Linked DNA regions of Homo sapiens: all the other regions are linked to region 1. The links are contacts of gene promoters, found by promoter capture Hi-C in blood cells and fetal thymus (Javierre and others, 2016). All regions are on one chromosome and are shown on one strand. Each heading gives the region's core, a stretch centred on a gene start or on the middle of the fragment in contact. The rest is flanking DNA. Distances are from core to core; before and after follow the strand shown.

Evidence for each region. The method cuts DNA at HindIII sites, captures the fragments that hold promoters and counts their contacts. A CHiCAGO score of 5 or more calls a contact.
Region 2: a contact is called between the fragment with the promoter of TPPP3 here and the fragment with the promoter of CES4A in region 1, in 1 of 17 cell types (erythroblasts). The highest score is 5.1, in erythroblasts.
Region 3: the fragment with the promoter of HSD11B2 here is called in contact with the fragment with the promoter of CES4A in region 1 in 13 of 17 cell types (erythroblasts, neutrophils, total B cells and 10 more); the score reaches 15.2 in erythroblasts.
Region 4: the fragment with the promoter of PLEKHG4 here is called in contact with the fragment with the promoter of CES4A in region 1 in 2 of 17 cell types (neutrophils and naive CD4 T cells); the score reaches 7.1 in neutrophils.
Region 5: the fragment with the promoter of KCTD19 here is called in contact with the fragment with the promoter of CES4A in region 1 in 12 of 17 cell types (erythroblasts, neutrophils, monocytes and 9 more); the score reaches 9.9 in erythroblasts.

Annotation. Positions count from the first base shown.
Region 1 is chr16:66,987,180-66,990,169 of GRCh38, forward strand. It overlaps CES4A (carboxylesterase 4A), which reads left to right and starts at 1,410. Exons shown (of 14, transcript NM_001364782.1): 1 at 1,410-1,651. The coding sequence starts at 1,594. The HindIII fragment of the contact is 37,432 bases long and covers 1-2,990 here.
Region 2 is chr16:67,392,068-67,394,943 of GRCh38, forward strand. TPPP3 (tubulin polymerization promoting protein family member 3) reads right to left here and starts at 1,431. Exons shown (of 4, transcript NM_015964.4): 1 at 1,313-1,431. It overlaps ZDHHC1 (zDHHC palmitoyltransferase 1), which reads right to left. Exons shown (of 12, transcript NM_001323627.2): 12 at 2,085-2,826. The coding sequence ends at 2,543. The HindIII fragment of the contact is 5,780 bases long and covers 1-2,876 here.
Region 3 is chr16:67,429,682-67,432,502 of GRCh38, forward strand. HSD11B2 (hydroxysteroid 11-beta dehydrogenase 2) reads left to right here and starts at 1,440. Exons shown (of 5, transcript NM_000196.4): 1 at 1,440-1,832. The coding sequence starts at 1,568. RefSeq lists silencers at 1,109-1,158, 1,379-1,558. The HindIII fragment of the contact is 16,145 bases long and covers 1-2,821 here.
Region 4 is chr16:67,278,059-67,281,022 of GRCh38, forward strand. PLEKHG4 (pleckstrin homology and RhoGEF domain containing G4) reads left to right here and starts at 1,474. Exons shown (of 22, transcript NM_001129729.3): 1 at 1,474-1,568; 2 at 1,818-2,485; 3 at 2,653-2,748; 4 at 2,824-2,947. The coding sequence starts at 1,987. LOC124903701 (a long non-coding RNA gene) reads right to left here and starts at 1,353. Exons shown (of 3, transcript XR_007065092.1): 1 at 1,091-1,353. RefSeq lists silencers at 967-1,126, 1,177-1,606, 1,326-1,507. The HindIII fragment of the contact is 13,408 bases long and covers 1-2,964 here.
Region 5 is chr16:67,325,303-67,328,018 of GRCh38, forward strand. KCTD19 (potassium channel tetramerization domain containing 19) reads right to left here and starts at 1,439. Exons shown (of 16, transcript NM_001100915.3): 1 at 1,403-1,439. The coding sequence starts at 1,405. LRRC36 (leucine rich repeat containing 36) reads left to right here and starts at 1,513. Exons shown (of 14, transcript NM_018296.6): 1 at 1,513-1,630. The coding sequence starts at 1,561. RefSeq lists a silencer at 1,406-1,555. The HindIII fragment of the contact is 1,968 bases long and covers 444-2,411 here.

The sequences.
Region 1 (2,990 bases), core at 160-2,659:
ATTCCTTGGGACTGAGGAAGGGTCACAAGGATGGGAACTGTGGGAGAGGAGTCCCAAATAAAGAGCATCTCCGAAGAACTCAGAAAATTGACTGTGAAAGAAGGAGGTTTAACCATCTGTCAGGCCTATAGAGCAAGAGGCTGTGGGCCAAGGGAGAAGTTCTCTGTTCCCCTGCCTTTTCCCCTCCCCAGCACAGAAGCCCAACAGACCCTCTTTTCACAAAGATGGGCCAGGACCCCAGACTTTGGGGGTACACGAGAGAGGAAACATCTTACCTTTTTTTTGTTCTTTGAGATGGAGTCTCACTCTGTCGCCCAGGCTGGAGTACAGTGACGCCATCTTGGCTCACTGCAAGCTCCGCCTCCTGGTTTCAAGCAATTCTCTTGCCTCAGCCTCCTGAGTAGCTGGAACTACGGGCGCGTGCCACCACGCCCGGATAATTTTTTGTATTTTTAGTAGGGACGGGGTGTTAGCCAGGATGGTCTCGATCTTCTGACCTCGTGACCCGCCTGCCTCAGCCTCCCAAAGTGTTGGGATTACAGGCATGAGCCACCGTGCCTGGCCTATTTATTTTTGAGACAGGGTCTCACTCTGTCACCCAGGCTGGAGTGCAGTGGCCCGATCTCGGCTCACTACAACCTCCGCCTCCCAGGTTCAAGCCATCCTCCTGCCTCAGCCTCCTGAGTAGCTGGGACTACAGGCACACACTACCACGCCCAGCTAATTTTTGTATTCTTTGTTTTAGTAGAGACGGGGTTTCACCATGTTGGCCAGGCTGGTCTCGAACTCCTGACCTCAGGTGATCCACCTGCCTCAGCCTTCCAAAGTGCTGGTATTACAGGCATGAGCCACCACACCCAGCCCCATCTTACCTTTGACTGAAGATGGGACTGCTGTCTCCTTGCTTCCACCTCCCACACTTGCTCCTGTGGCTCCAAACTTCAAACAGGATCTTTCTTTGCCTGGCCCACTCCTCCTCATCCTTTACTTAGAAGATTAGATCTTTTCCAGGGAATCTTCATTCCCACCACCCGGCTCTGGGCTCACTCCTCGGGTGCCCCTCTGGGCTCCCACATTACGGTTGCTTTCAGGTCCAGCTTCCGCATGTGGACTATGAAACTGTGAGGACAGCCAAGGGTCAGCATGTGCGAGGAAAGGCAGGGAAGAGGCTAGACGAGGCACTGGGGAGCAGGGAGGCCCAAGACCCTTAAATCCACAGACAGGAAGCCCTGGCTGAAGGGCCAAGTAACCAGGTGTTCTACTTCAATCTTGGCACCCACTGTATGCTTAGACCTTGACTCACACATGTTCAGCTTTAAGCCACTGCACAGATGAGCAAACGGGGCGGAGATTGCAGGCTGATCAGTTTGAAGAGCCAAGATCATCTAGCGTGACCTGTTGCCCAAGGCAGAGACAAGGCTGTGGGCTGGTCAGAAGCTGGTTACAATTCCTCCCGCCCCAGTACTTGCTGGCAGGGATTAAGAGCAGATAAAAGTGTGCTCACACACTGTAGACACGGCTACCATGCCATCCACAGTGTTGCCATCCACAGTGTTGCCATCACTCCTGCCCACAGCAGGAGCTGGCTGGAGCATGAGGTGGATTCTGTGCTGGAGCCTCACCCTCTGCCTGATGGCGCAGACGGCCTTGGGTAAGACCCCCACCCCTTCCCGAGAGTGTCAGGCAAGACGGGCACAAGGGATGGAGGGACAGGCCCCAGTTCAACCTCTCCTGGGGACAGCAGGGCAGGAGCACTTAGACAAGGCCTGGGCAAATGGAGGGTAGGGTTTCAGGACACTAAACCATCTACCAGCTGGGAGTCTGGACAAGTCCTTTAGCCTCCCTGAACCTCAGGGCTTCTCTGTATTTCCTGCCTCCCGGCACAGGTGAAGGGGTCTGAGAACATGGCCACATCTTTTCTTCCTTCCCACCTTTTTCCTTCCTTCCATCCTTCTTTCCTTCTCCTAAGCAGGAGGCCTGTCTCTGCCCCCTCTCTGCTACATGAACCTCTTTACCACCTTCAAATTTCTCCCCAATATCTTTCTTTTTAAAATGAGTACTACACTTTTTACTGTGAAAACAATCTAATACATTAACAAAAGTTTACTGAGGTATAAGATGTATACAGCAAGGTGCACACATCTTCACTGTATAATTATATCTATTATACTAATTATTATATATATATATATGGTAACCATTATCCAGATCAACATCTAGAACATTTCCAGTGGGTTAGGCATGGTAGCTCATGCCTGTAATTCCAGCACTTTGAGAGGCTGAGGTGGGAGGATTACTTGAGCCCAGGAGTTTGAGACCAGCCTGGGCAAATAGTGAGACCTAGCCTGGGTAAATAGACTCTGTCTCTATTTTTAAAAAACATTTTTTAAAAAGTTTTTTTAACTTACAAGGATACACCTGTAATCCCAGCACTTTGGGAGGCCGAAGCGGGCAGATCACCTGAGGTCAGGAGTTTGAGACCAGCCTAACCAATATTATTACCCCGTCTCTACTAAAAATACAAAACTAGCCAGGCATGGTGGCACATGCCTGTAATCCCAGCTACTCAGGAGGCTGAGGCAGGAGAATCGCTTGAAGCCAGGAGGCAGAGGTTGTAGTGAGCCGAGATCGTGCCATTGCACTCCAGCCTGGGCAACAAGAGCGAAACTCTATCTCAAAAAAAAAAACAAAAAACCATCTCCAGCGTCCCATGTACTCCTTCTCAGTCAATACTCAAAGTTACCACTAGTCTGACCTCTATCATAAATAAATTTTGCCCATATATACATATATCCATTATTTTAAATTTGAAGGAAACTTTGCTTACTCCGCTTTTAACATTTTGGCGCATTTTCTTTTCATCTTTTCTTTTTTTTTTTTTTTTTTTTTGAGACGGAGTCTCGCCCTGTCACCCAGACTGGTGTGCAATGGTGCCATCTCCGCTCACCGCAACCTCCACCTCCCGGGTTCAAGCAATTCTCCCCACCTCA
Region 2 (2,876 bases), core at 181-2,680, 400 kb after region 1:
TCTACACCTCAGACCTCCCCTGGCCACGCCCTGAACTTGGCCACACCAGCCCACATTCCCAGCGACCCTGTGCACTCAGCCCTGGCCTGCCACCCCCTGGGCCTTGTACCCCTGGCCATACCTTCAGCCCTCCATCCTCCATCTTCACACCCACAGCCACAGCCCTCGGCCACCAGCCCCCACATATATACTAACAAGCCTGCGCCAACCCCAGTAATACCCACAGTCCAGCACTAAAGTGCCCCCCACACCCACAGCCCTCCGCTGCAGACCCCTGGCCACACCCTGAGCCTACACAGCAGCCTTCTCCATCCCCACACCCGCAGCCCTGGGGCTGAGGCCCCTGGCCACAAACCTGCATCCCTTCCTGAGACCCCTGACCATAGCCTCAGCCACTCACCCCCTCCAATACCCGCAGCCCTTTATCAAGGCGCCCTGACCCTCAGCACCCCTTTGTCCACACACCCTCAGCCCTCTGGCCACACCCTCAGCCTGCACTGAAGGCCCCAGTCCACATCCACACACTAACATTATAAGACTCCCAGGTACTATGCGGAGATCCCCTGCGTAGAGACCTCCCCACCACATCCCCCTCCTCCACTGCCACCTCCTGACCACACCCTCGGTCTCAGCAACCATCTTCTAGCTCTGCCTTTTACACTAGGGCTTCCAGTGACCACGGCCTGGGCTCTGCCCGGCTGCCCCATCTTCCACCAAAAACTCCTCGCCAGTGACCACACTCCCATCCCTAAGTGGCAGTTTCTGGGACTGTGAGCACCGGTGGTTCCTACGTTACAGGGACCATAACCCCAGTCCACGCTGCACTCCCCTTCCCTTTCCCTGGGTGCAACCTCCCACCAGGGACCCCAAGACCCGCACTTGGTTCACCAAGGGTAACGTCCAGGGGAGCTTGGATGCCACAGGGTGCTTGGCCCAAGCACTGGGCGGATCCTGCGTGCAGTGCTCACTCCTGTCCGTGGAAAGATGGATTCTTGGTCATCTCAGCGCGGTCAGGTGGCGCTGGGTTGCAGGCCGCAGCCCCATGGGTCTGCAGGCCATGGATGGAGTGGCCACACCCGTGAACTGGAGCCACCCGTCCCGCTCCCACTGGGACAGCTGGAGTCATCAATCAGCCGGACCAGGAGGTGGGGGCTGCGAGGTGGAATGCTTGGGGCCAGGGCAGGGCCGCTCAGCTGGCTCCTCGGCTGGGACCGCCGGAGGTTGGGACCCTTTCCAGGCTGCTCCCCCCAACCCTCATCGTGCAGGATACTGATTGGGGTGGCGGGCATCTGGGTCTCCTATGGGCTTCTACCTCGCGGCTGCTCCTGAAGTGTGCGTTCGGAAGGACAGAACGACGCAGGAATGGACCGATGGACGCGGGAGACCAGGCGGCTCCGCAGCTCCGCTCCCTGCCGGCTCCCGGGTGGGACTGCAGCCCAGGCGGCTCCGCCGTATTATCCCCTGTTTCTCGGTCTCCATAGAGACGGCGAGTCCCACCCCCGAGGCTGTCTCGGCGGGAGAGTGACCAAGGTCACGCCGGCCCCGCCCACGAGGCCCCGCCCTCCCCGAGACTCTCCGGGAGCCGCATCCCGCCCCTCCCCCGCAACTCCGCGGTCCTCGCGACGGCGAGACCAGCGCTCTGCAGTTCGGGGCGTCTTCGGACGGCCCCCTGAGGAAACAGCCTCCCATCCTGGGATGTGCCTAAAGCTCTAAGCGGCCCCAATCTCCAGAAGAGATCCAGCTCCCCAGAGAGTCAACCAGAGGCCACTGGGGAGCTGCGCGGGGCATTGGTGGGGCTTGGGGAATCGGGAAGGAGCTCTCCCTCAGTGACAGGGGTATACGGTTGACTCAAGAGCACTGCCATCCACTGAACGGATGGCACCCCCAGGCCACAACTCCCGTGCTCTCTTGGGTAGGATTCAGAGCCTGGAGCAGTGGGGAAGAAGGGAGGGGACTCCCTACGAGCGAATCGCGCTCGCCCAGCCCCAGGATGCTGGCATTCGACGGCAGCCCTGCTGCCGGGGAAAAGCTGCGGGACCTCCTGGCTCGGCCCCCTCCTTTCGCCGCCACCTCCCCACGGCCTCGCAGCCTCAGCGCCCACTGCTGCTTTCGGAGCCCAAAGCCTGCTTTCTCTCGGCCTCCCAGTGCAAAGCCCATCTTTAAGAAAAATAACCTCCTCCAGGCCGCCTTCTAAGGCCTTTCCTAACCACGAGCCGCACGTGAGCACCTCCACAGGGCAGCCTGGGTGGCTACCTACTATACAGGGACCTCCTCCCCGCCCCCGGTCCACTGGCCAGGGTCGGGCTTCTGGATGGCCCGTGGCCCCTGCCATTAAGAAAGTAAGCGCGACGTCCGCAAAAGCATAAAAAAGTTTATTGGAGCATCACAGCCGGTGGGGCGGGTATTGCTGAGTCGTGGGGGAGGGAGGCCGATCCCGCCGGCCGTAGGGGCCCCTAAAGTGCACTCGGTGCGGCAAGGATGGGGTGTTGCATAGAGAGTCAGGCCGGCCGCTCTAACTCGGCCCTCCGGCCTCTCGGCCCAGCTAAGCCAGACCAGCCTCCCGGCCGCCCGGCGCCCTGGGCTCGCCGCTGCTCGGGCTCACGAAAACGGCGGGCGCACGCGCCTGCCGCGCCAGCGTGGGCTGTCGGCCCCGGCCCCGCGGGGCGGCCAGAGCGGCGCTGCCCAGGCGCGTCTGCGCCACTGGAATCTCGTCCACGGACTCTGCCGACGCCGAGTGGTAGGCGCCGGCAGGGCCAGCGGCGTGCACAGGGCTGGCGTCCGCGGAATCCGTCGACGAGCTGGAGCGGCGGCTGGGGGCCCTAGGCCCTGCGCAAGGGAAGGGAACATGAGCCCAGTGGCTGCGGCTCGCTTGTGGC
Region 3 (2,821 bases), core at 190-2,689, 440 kb after region 1:
CTTGCCTGTCATCTGTCCTTAGGAGGAGGGATAGGTGGAGGCACAGGAGTGGCTCAGGGCAAATTGGTCCTCCACCCAGAGACTCTCCCTTTAGGTGGGTCTGGCTCCCAGCCTCCCCTGAGATTTCCCTGGCTCACCAGGGGGCTGTGTCTGGTGGCAGAGAGGGCTTTGGAGGAGGCATTGCCCTGAAACCCTGGCAGAGCCTGGGCACCTAAGAGAGAATGAGCAACAGGGCTAGGAAGTGTGACAGGGAGTCCACAACCTCCCAGGATCTTGGGAGGGCAGGGATGAGGCACTGAGCACGGCCTGGAAGCCCACGGGAAGCAGGGACCCCTCTGTCGAGGGCTACACCTACTGCTCTCAGCATCAAGCCTGCAGCCAGGTACTGGCACCAACTCCCAGTGCCTGGCAGAGCCCTGGCATGGATGCTAGGCACAGGGTGCCAGACACGGGGGTGGGCAGGGTGGGGGGCCACTGGGCCACACACAAGCATGGAGACCTTCACACACGCAGGCAGAAAAATCCACCCACACTCATACCACTTATTTTACCCCCTGGGGGTTCAGGGGAGCAAGGCAGGGACCACCCTGTCCTAGAGGCTGCCTTCACCGACGTCCCTCTGGCCTGGCTCTTGGGGTTGGCGGGGGTGGGCCATAAGTAATGGGAGACCTAGGTGCTTCCTCTGACACCCCACCCTCCACTGACCCCCACACACATACATTTGTGAGGCAGGAAGTGGGGTTGTGCGTCCCCAGGTTTAAGCCCTGGAAGGAAAGGGAAAGACGGGGCAGAGACTCCAAGAACCGGGAGCGGTCGTCCTGTTCCCCCGCCAGCCCCTGTCCCAGGCAGGTTTTGTGGCCGCGAGCTGCTCAGGGGTGAGCGCGCCTTAGGGTGTGTGCGCCAGGGACCTGGCGCAGCCGACCACGTGGGAGTGCGGCGCGTGTACGGGCGCGGGCGGCAGCGGCAGCGGCAGCGGAGACCGGGTGAGCACCGGCTGGTTCCTCGCGGTGTTCCTGCAGGCTTGGCGGCCGCGGTGGTGCGATCAGCAAAGGGCACCGGGATGCCGGTTGTGCGTGTCCTCAGGTGTCCCGAACAAGCGTGAGTGGCATGTGCTCACCTGAGCGCGGCGGCTTGGCGGCCCCGGGCGTGTGGGTGGGGGCGCGGCGGAGAGCTGAGGCCGGGCACCCGGGCTGGACCGACGGGCCCTCTCCCAAGCACCGCCCGCAGCCAGGCGGCTCCTCGAGCGCAGCAACTTTGGGACTTTGTTCCGGCTTTTTCCAAATCGAATCTGGTCGAGGGGGCGGGGCGGGGGGGGAGCACCTGCCCTGCGGGGGGTGCCGGGAGAGAAGTGAAGGAAAGCCCCGCCCCCGCCCCTCCCGCTCCCCGCCCTCTCCCCCGCCCCCGGGGCTCTTCATAAGCTCGGCCCGAGGGCGAGCAGAGAAAGCGAGTGTCCCTCTCGCGCCCCAGGCCGGTGTACCCCCGCACTCCGCGCCCCGGCCTAGAAGCTCTCTCTCCCCGCTCCCCGGCCCGGCCCCCGCCCCGCCCCGCCCCAGCCCGCTGGGCCGCCATGGAGCGCTGGCCTTGGCCGTCGGGCGGCGCCTGGCTGCTCGTGGCTGCCCGCGCGCTGCTGCAGCTGCTGCGCTCAGACCTGCGTCTGGGCCGCCCGCTGCTGGCGGCGCTGGCGCTGCTGGCCGCGCTCGACTGGCTGTGCCAGCGCCTGCTGCCCCCGCCGGCCGCACTCGCCGTGCTGGCCGCCGCCGGCTGGATCGCGTTGTCCCGCCTGGCGCGCCCGCAGCGCCTGCCGGTGGCCACTCGCGCGGTGCTCATCACCGGTGAGTGCGCGGGTCGCGGAGCGCGGGGACTCCAGGCTCGAGGGCGGGACTGGACACTCAACAGGACTGACTCCCCATGGGCACAGCCAAGGCGGGCTCCTCAGCGCAAGAGTGGGAGAGTTCTCCACCCCTGGGTGCAGGGAGCGAGCCAAATAGGGAGCGCCGGGCACCTCCCCAAGCCCGGGTTCACTACCTGCCGCTGCGGGGAGTGTTGGAGGGAAAGTGAGACAGGGAGTGGGCCGGTTCGAGAAGGAAACTGACTGGTGGCTGAGAAGAGGGAACCTCCTGGAGTTTGAGAGTTTATGCCATTCCCTTCCCCAAGAGAGCAGTCTCAGGGGACTTCGGAGGCCTTGAGAAGGGAGGATCGTTACCCCTTGAACTCTGCCTGACATCCCCACCTAAGATACCCATCTCCCATTCCTCGGGCCAGAGGGAAGAGCTTAGATGGGGAACTTCCCCACCCCACCCATCCCCCACTGGCTGGGATCCTTGGAGTTCAGAAAAGCTAGAGGTCACCGTGAGGGGCAGCTGGACATTCAGCTGTCTTTCTGTCTAGCCACCCACTGCCAAACTGCTGAGGCAGTAGTTTGGAGCCTACACCCAGCACCCCACCCCCAAGCCCTCCTGGTCCTCTGTGCCCAGGAAGGAGCTCTTAGAGAGCTGGGCTCAGGTGCCTCTGGCCGCCTAGCTGAGCTCCTTTGTCTGGAGCAGGGAATAAATCTGTCACCAGAGGGAGGGAAGGGGAAGGGGGGGGGGGGCTGGAGGCCCGCCGGAAGTGGGGAGGGGGAGAAAGGCCAGGGGGCACTGACTCCATTGCATCGTGGGAGGAGCAGCCTGGTCTCTCGCCAATACCCACGGCTTTGGACAGGTGCTCCAGGCTTTGTCCTTGCGCTGGGCCTTTGCTGGGGCAGCCAGCAACCTGGCTTCTCAGAGACCTCGGTCTAGTAGGGGCCCTGTGTGATCAGATGGGGCTGGGAGAATTTTCCGGA
Region 4 (2,964 bases), core at 224-2,723, 290 kb after region 1:
TGGGTGCTGGTGGGCAGCAGAAGGGGAGGGAGGGAGCAGAAGGCAGTGACTCAGTGGGGGTGGCCCTGGGACAGAACTGGGGAGGAAGCCAAGGTTGGATGATGCTTCCTGAAGCCAGGAGGGTGGGAAGAGAGGTCTGGCTGGGAGTTAGGGATGGAGCAGGACAACTCCAAGGCTCCCCTCTGGCAGCCAGACCTGCTCATGAAGAAGGCTCCTCGGTAGCTGCCTGAAAGTCTGGACTCTGGGGGCTGGGCTGGGCTGGGTGGGGAGATTGCTGTTGGTCCCACTGTGCCTGTTGTAATCCCCAGGTTCATGAAAGAGGTGCCTGCCTTAGAGCCAGGGAAGCCGTTGCACCCGGTGCCCCCTCTCCCCAGGGACCATGGGCCTGGGCACACTGTGGGGCTCAGGGTCTTCTCCTGGTCGCAGAGCTGACCTTCCCACAATCTTCCCACAAATTCTGGGGAGTGTCGGGCCAGGCCCACATGCCCTAAAGGGACCTCAAATCGCACAGCTACCCACTTGGGTAGCTTTCATCAGTTCAGGATTCCCTGACTGCGGGTGAAATGAGGGGGCAGGGCACCAACACAGCCCGAGTGCTGGCAGCGGGTGAACGTATAACACAGGGAGTCTTCCCCAGTCCTCACGGCAACCCCAGGAGAAAAATGACTTTCCATTTTTACAGGTGAGGAGGGTGAGGCTCAAAGAGCAGAGTTCCTGGAGCGCCCCCAGCAGGTAAGTGGAGAAGCCAGGCCTGGGCTGGGGGCTCTGGCTCCAGAACCCCACCTCAGCACCAGCCTCCTGCACCGGACTTTGTGGAGAAGGGGGTAAGGGGGTGCCAGGGATGGCAAAGGGGTAGAGGATCTGGTGGACTCTGGCAGGCCTGGGTCAGCTCCACCCATTGGTCTCACTCCCACCCGGATGGCAGCCCCATCCCACGTGGGATCATGCGACCTGTCTCTGGGTGCCCGCGGCGAGGCAGCACCCCGCTTCCCTACACAGAAGGCCTTCCCCTCCCGTCGGCTCATTCAGCCGCGGAAGCCCCTGGGAGACCCCGCCCCGCCCCGTCCCGCGGTGCCCCCCGCGCACTCACCCTCGCTCACCCACGCGGCCTTCCTGGCGGGAGAGCGCTTCCGGCGTCCTCGCCAGGCCCGGGGAGTGGGCACGGTGGAGCTGCCGACCGTTGGTCGCTGCCCCAACCCACGCACTGCGACGCCGCGGGTGAGGCGCGCGGTCTGCGGGGCCCGGGGGTGCGGCGGGGCGGGGCTGGCGGGCTGTCCGGGCCCACGGAGAGGACGGCGGCGGGCGGGGGTTGCTGCAGGGCCCGCACCTTGTCTTCCGCGCCGGCAGGGCTGTGCCCCGTCGAGACCTGCTCGGGCTGTGGCTCCGTCCTCCGGCCTCCAGGGGGCGGCGCGGCGCTGCGCGGCGCCCCGGCGGCACTGCCCTCCCTTCCCAGCGGCCAGGAGGCGGTGTCCCGTGACGCCGCGCGGCCGCGCTGTAGTGGCCGTCGAGGCCGCCGTCTGTTCGAAGGCTGTCCGACTTCACGGTTCCCCGCGGCTCGGCCCGGGGGCGTGAGTGTCGCCAGCGGGCGACGGGGGGGCGCGCGGTAGGCCCTGCAACAAGGCCAGGGCCTGGGGGGGCCGGCAGGAGAGCGAACCCGAGGCATCGTGGTGCCATGGCGGGGCCGCCCCCACGGGCATGGGCCTGCAGAGCGTGGCCGTGAGGACGCTGAGGGTGGGCGCGCACGGAGCAGAGGCCCACGGGCGTCCGACGGGGGACCTGGACAGAGGGACACCCTTAACGTTATTCCCTCTTCCCAGGCCTGAATTGCAGTTCCTGTGCCCTGGCACTAAGACTGGCACCTCCTGCGGCCCATGCCCTTCGCCTGCATTGCCCACTGAGTCCCACTCGACTGTCTTCAGCGCGGTTCACACTGAGACCCAGCCCTCTCCCGCTGGCCCCGAGCAGGCCCACCTTTAGGAGGGCGTGATGGAAAGGCCCCTGGAGAATGGGGATGAGTCCCCAGACTCTCAGGGCCATGCCACCGACTGGAGATTTGCTGTGTGCAGTTTCAGGGATGCCTGGGAAGAGGAGGAACCTGCTTCCCAGATGCACGTTAAGGACCCAGGTCCTCCAAGACCACCAGCCGGGGCCACCCAGGATGAGGAGCTACAGGGCAGCCCCTTGTCCAGGAAATTCCAGTTACCCCCAGCTGCAGATGAGTCGGGGGATGCCCAGAGGGGCACAGTAGAAAGCTCCTCAGTCCTGTCAGAAGGGCCAGGCCCCTCTGGAGTGGAGAGTCTCCTATGCCCCATGTCCTCCCACCTCAGCTTGGCACAGGGTGAGAGTGACACCCCAGGGGTAGGGTTGGTAGGGGACCCAGGTCCAAGCAGGGCGATGCCATCTGGCTTGAGCCCTGGGGCATTGGACAGCGACCCTGTGGGCCTTGGAGACCCTTTATCAGAAATATCAAAGCTGCTGGAGGCAGGTAAGGAAGGCTGGGCTAGGGAAGTCTGGGAAGGGAATGGGGATGCCTGGAGAGATGAGTGTCAAGACTTTGGAGGTCTCTGACCCTACTCAGGCTGAAGCCCGGGTCCAAGTAGGGGTCTCTGGATAGGTGGTCCAAGGCAGACCCAAGTCATTTCCCTTCCCAAGCCCCCAGTGGATCCGGCCTCCCTAAGCCTGCTGACTGCCTCCTGGCCCAAGACCTCTGTTGGGAGCTGCTGGCCAGTGGTATGGCCACCTTGCCAGGTAGCCAGGCGGGCCTAGAGGCGGTGGAGGTGGAGTGGCCCAATACGGCAGGAGTTCACTGCTTCCTCCCCACAGGGACTCGGGATGTCCAAGGCCGGGCAGTGCTGCTTCTGTGTGCCCACAGCCCAGCCTGGCTTCAGTCTGAGTGCAGCAGCCAGGAACTCATCCGCCTCCTGCTGTACCTGCGAAGCATCCCCAGGTTTGAGGGAGGGGGTT
Region 5 (2,716 bases), core at 189-2,688, 340 kb after region 1:
TACGCCATTCTCCTGCCTCAGCCTCCAGCCTCCTCAAGTAGCTGGGACTACAGGCGCCCGCCACCACGCCCGGCTTTATTTTATTTTATTTTATTTTATTTTGTTTTATTTTTGTATTTTTAGTAGAGATGGGGTTTCACTGTGTTAGCCAGGATGGTCTCGATCTCCTGACCTCGTGATCCACATGCTTCGGCCTCCCAAAGTGCTGGGATTACAGACGTGAGCCACCACGCCCAGCCCACCCTCTTTTCTTGTTAAGGATAGGGTGTGACAAGAGGGTCCTGGCTCCTTCTTACATACATGTCCCATCCACAGGTGGGCTCTTAAGTGCCTGCTGGAGTGAGGGTAGGGGTTAGGGATGCGGCTGTTCTTTCCCAAAGACTACTCAGGGGCTGGTTAGTGCAGAGCTATCGCAGCCTGGCGACAGCCCTCAGTCACAGGCAAGCTTAGGGGAACCTGTGGTGCTTGAAAGACAAAAGGCTTCTTGCCGGACTGACTTCAGGAAACGGGGTAGCCCTAAAGCAGTCATCCCCACCCCATTACAAAGAGCTTCTCTCTTTCCCACGCTGATCCTTCTCCCCCGAAGAAGCTCCGTCCAAGTAAATTTCTTACCTTTTTTTTTTTTTTTTTTTTGAGACAAGGTCTGGCTCTGTCACTCAGGTCGCCCAGGCTGGAGTGCAGTGGTGCAATCTCGGTTCACTGCAACCTCCACCTCCCGGGTTCAAGCGATTCTCCTGCCTCAGCCTCCCGAGTAGCTGGGACTACAGGCCGTGCCACCACACCCGGCTAATTTTTGTATTTTTAGTAGAGATGGGGTTTCACCATGTTGGCCAGGCTGGTCTTGAACTCTTGACCTCAGGTGATCCGCCCACCTCGGGCTCCCAAAGTGCTGGGATTACAGGCGTGAGACACCGCGCCCAGCCCGTCCAAGTCAATTTCTAGAGCTAGAACTTCCTCATGCTCTAAAGACAGGACCCCAACTCCTCAGAGCCAGGATTCCCAACCTTTCAGATCTGGAGCTCCCCATCATGCCTTAGAGTTCTGTCCCCACGCTCCAATCCTTCAGATTTGGATCTCCCCTTCACACACACCCTCGCCTTGCCCCAAAGTCAGCATCCCCCAGCGCTGAGATATGAAGACCACCCCGTCAAAGGGGCACACGCCCAGCCCTCAGAACCGGAGTCCCCCACATCCTCAGAGCCAGAACACTTCATCCCTCAAGACAGAGCGTTATTCTAACTCCTCAGAGCCAGCCCCCCAAATCCTTCCCGGCTGGGGGCCCCTCGCTCTCTCCCATGCCCCAGAGCCAGGTCTCGAACCACTTAGCCCCAATCCTTGGCCACAGCGGCCCCCATTCGCCGCTTTGGTGCTTTTGGCGCCCCCGCCAGAGCGGGCTCCGTACCATGGTCGCGGCTCCAGCAGCGGGCGGGCGGGCTTGTGACCCGGCCAATAACGGTTCCCGGGGTCGCGGCGGCGCGCGCGCGGGGGGCGGGGCAGTGGGCGGGGCCTGGCGTGCGCCGGGTGGTCTCGCGGGCGGTGGCAGGTGAGCGGCGGGCGGGGATGGCGGAGCAATGGGAGCTGGACGAGGAAGGCATTCGCCGCCTGGGGGCGCTGACGCTGGAGCAGCCGGGTAGGGTCTGGCCGGGAGGGTGTGGACTGGGAACGTAGGGTCAGAAGCTGTGGAAAGAAAACTGAAGTGGAAGGCGGGGAACCTGAGATAGAGGCGAGGGAACCACAGAGAAGCGGTACCTGAGGCTGGGGGGCGGGGGGATAACTTGAGGCAGAAGGTTAGAGGGAGGTGGAGGTGGAGGAACTGAAGTAACGGGAGGGTGTGGGGCAGAGCCCGAGGAATTGAGAGAGAAGAGGGGAGTGTGAAGTAGGGAAGGAGAAACAAGGTTAACAGGGGACCCTGCCGCAGGTGACAGAACTGCGGGGGGCGGTGGCTGACCGCTGTAATCCCAGCACTTTGGGAGGCGGAGGCGGGTGGATCACCTGAGCGTGGCCAACATGGTGAAACCCCGTCTCTACTAAAATACAAAAATTAGCCCGGCGTGGTGGTTCAAGTCTATAATCCCAGCTACTCGGGAGGCTGAGGCAGGAGAATCGCTTGAACCCGGGAGGCGGAGGTTGCAGTTAGCCGAGATCGCACCACTGCACTGCAGCCTGGGCGACAGAGCGAGACTCCATCTCAAAAATAATAATAATAAATAAAATAAATAAATAATAAAATGTCTATTAGACATCCAAGTGTAAGGTACCTAGTAGGCAGTTGGATATATGGGTCTGGACCTCAGAGGAGAGGTCAGGGTTAGAGATGAAAATTTTGGAGACATTAGCAATAGGTGGTATTTAAAGCTACGGGAGTGGATGAACTCAGCTAAGGAGAGAATGTCGATGGAGAAGTGAAAGAAAGCTTAAGACTCAACCTTGGAATATTTCAGTGTTTAGAGGTTGTATAGAGGAAGAATGTGGTATCTTGGAATTTGAGAAGGGGTAGTGTATCGAGCAAGCAATGGCCAACTGTGCCAAATGCTATTGACAGGCTGAGCAACTTAAATGCAGAGTGTCTGTTAGATTTAGCAACATGGAACTTACTGGTGACCTTGACAGAGGGAGTTTTGGGAGGGTGGGGAGGAGGGAAACCAGATTGGAGTGGGATGAAAAAGGGAAATGATATTTGAGGGGAAGAGACAGTGAAAGTAAGAACTTTTGCTGA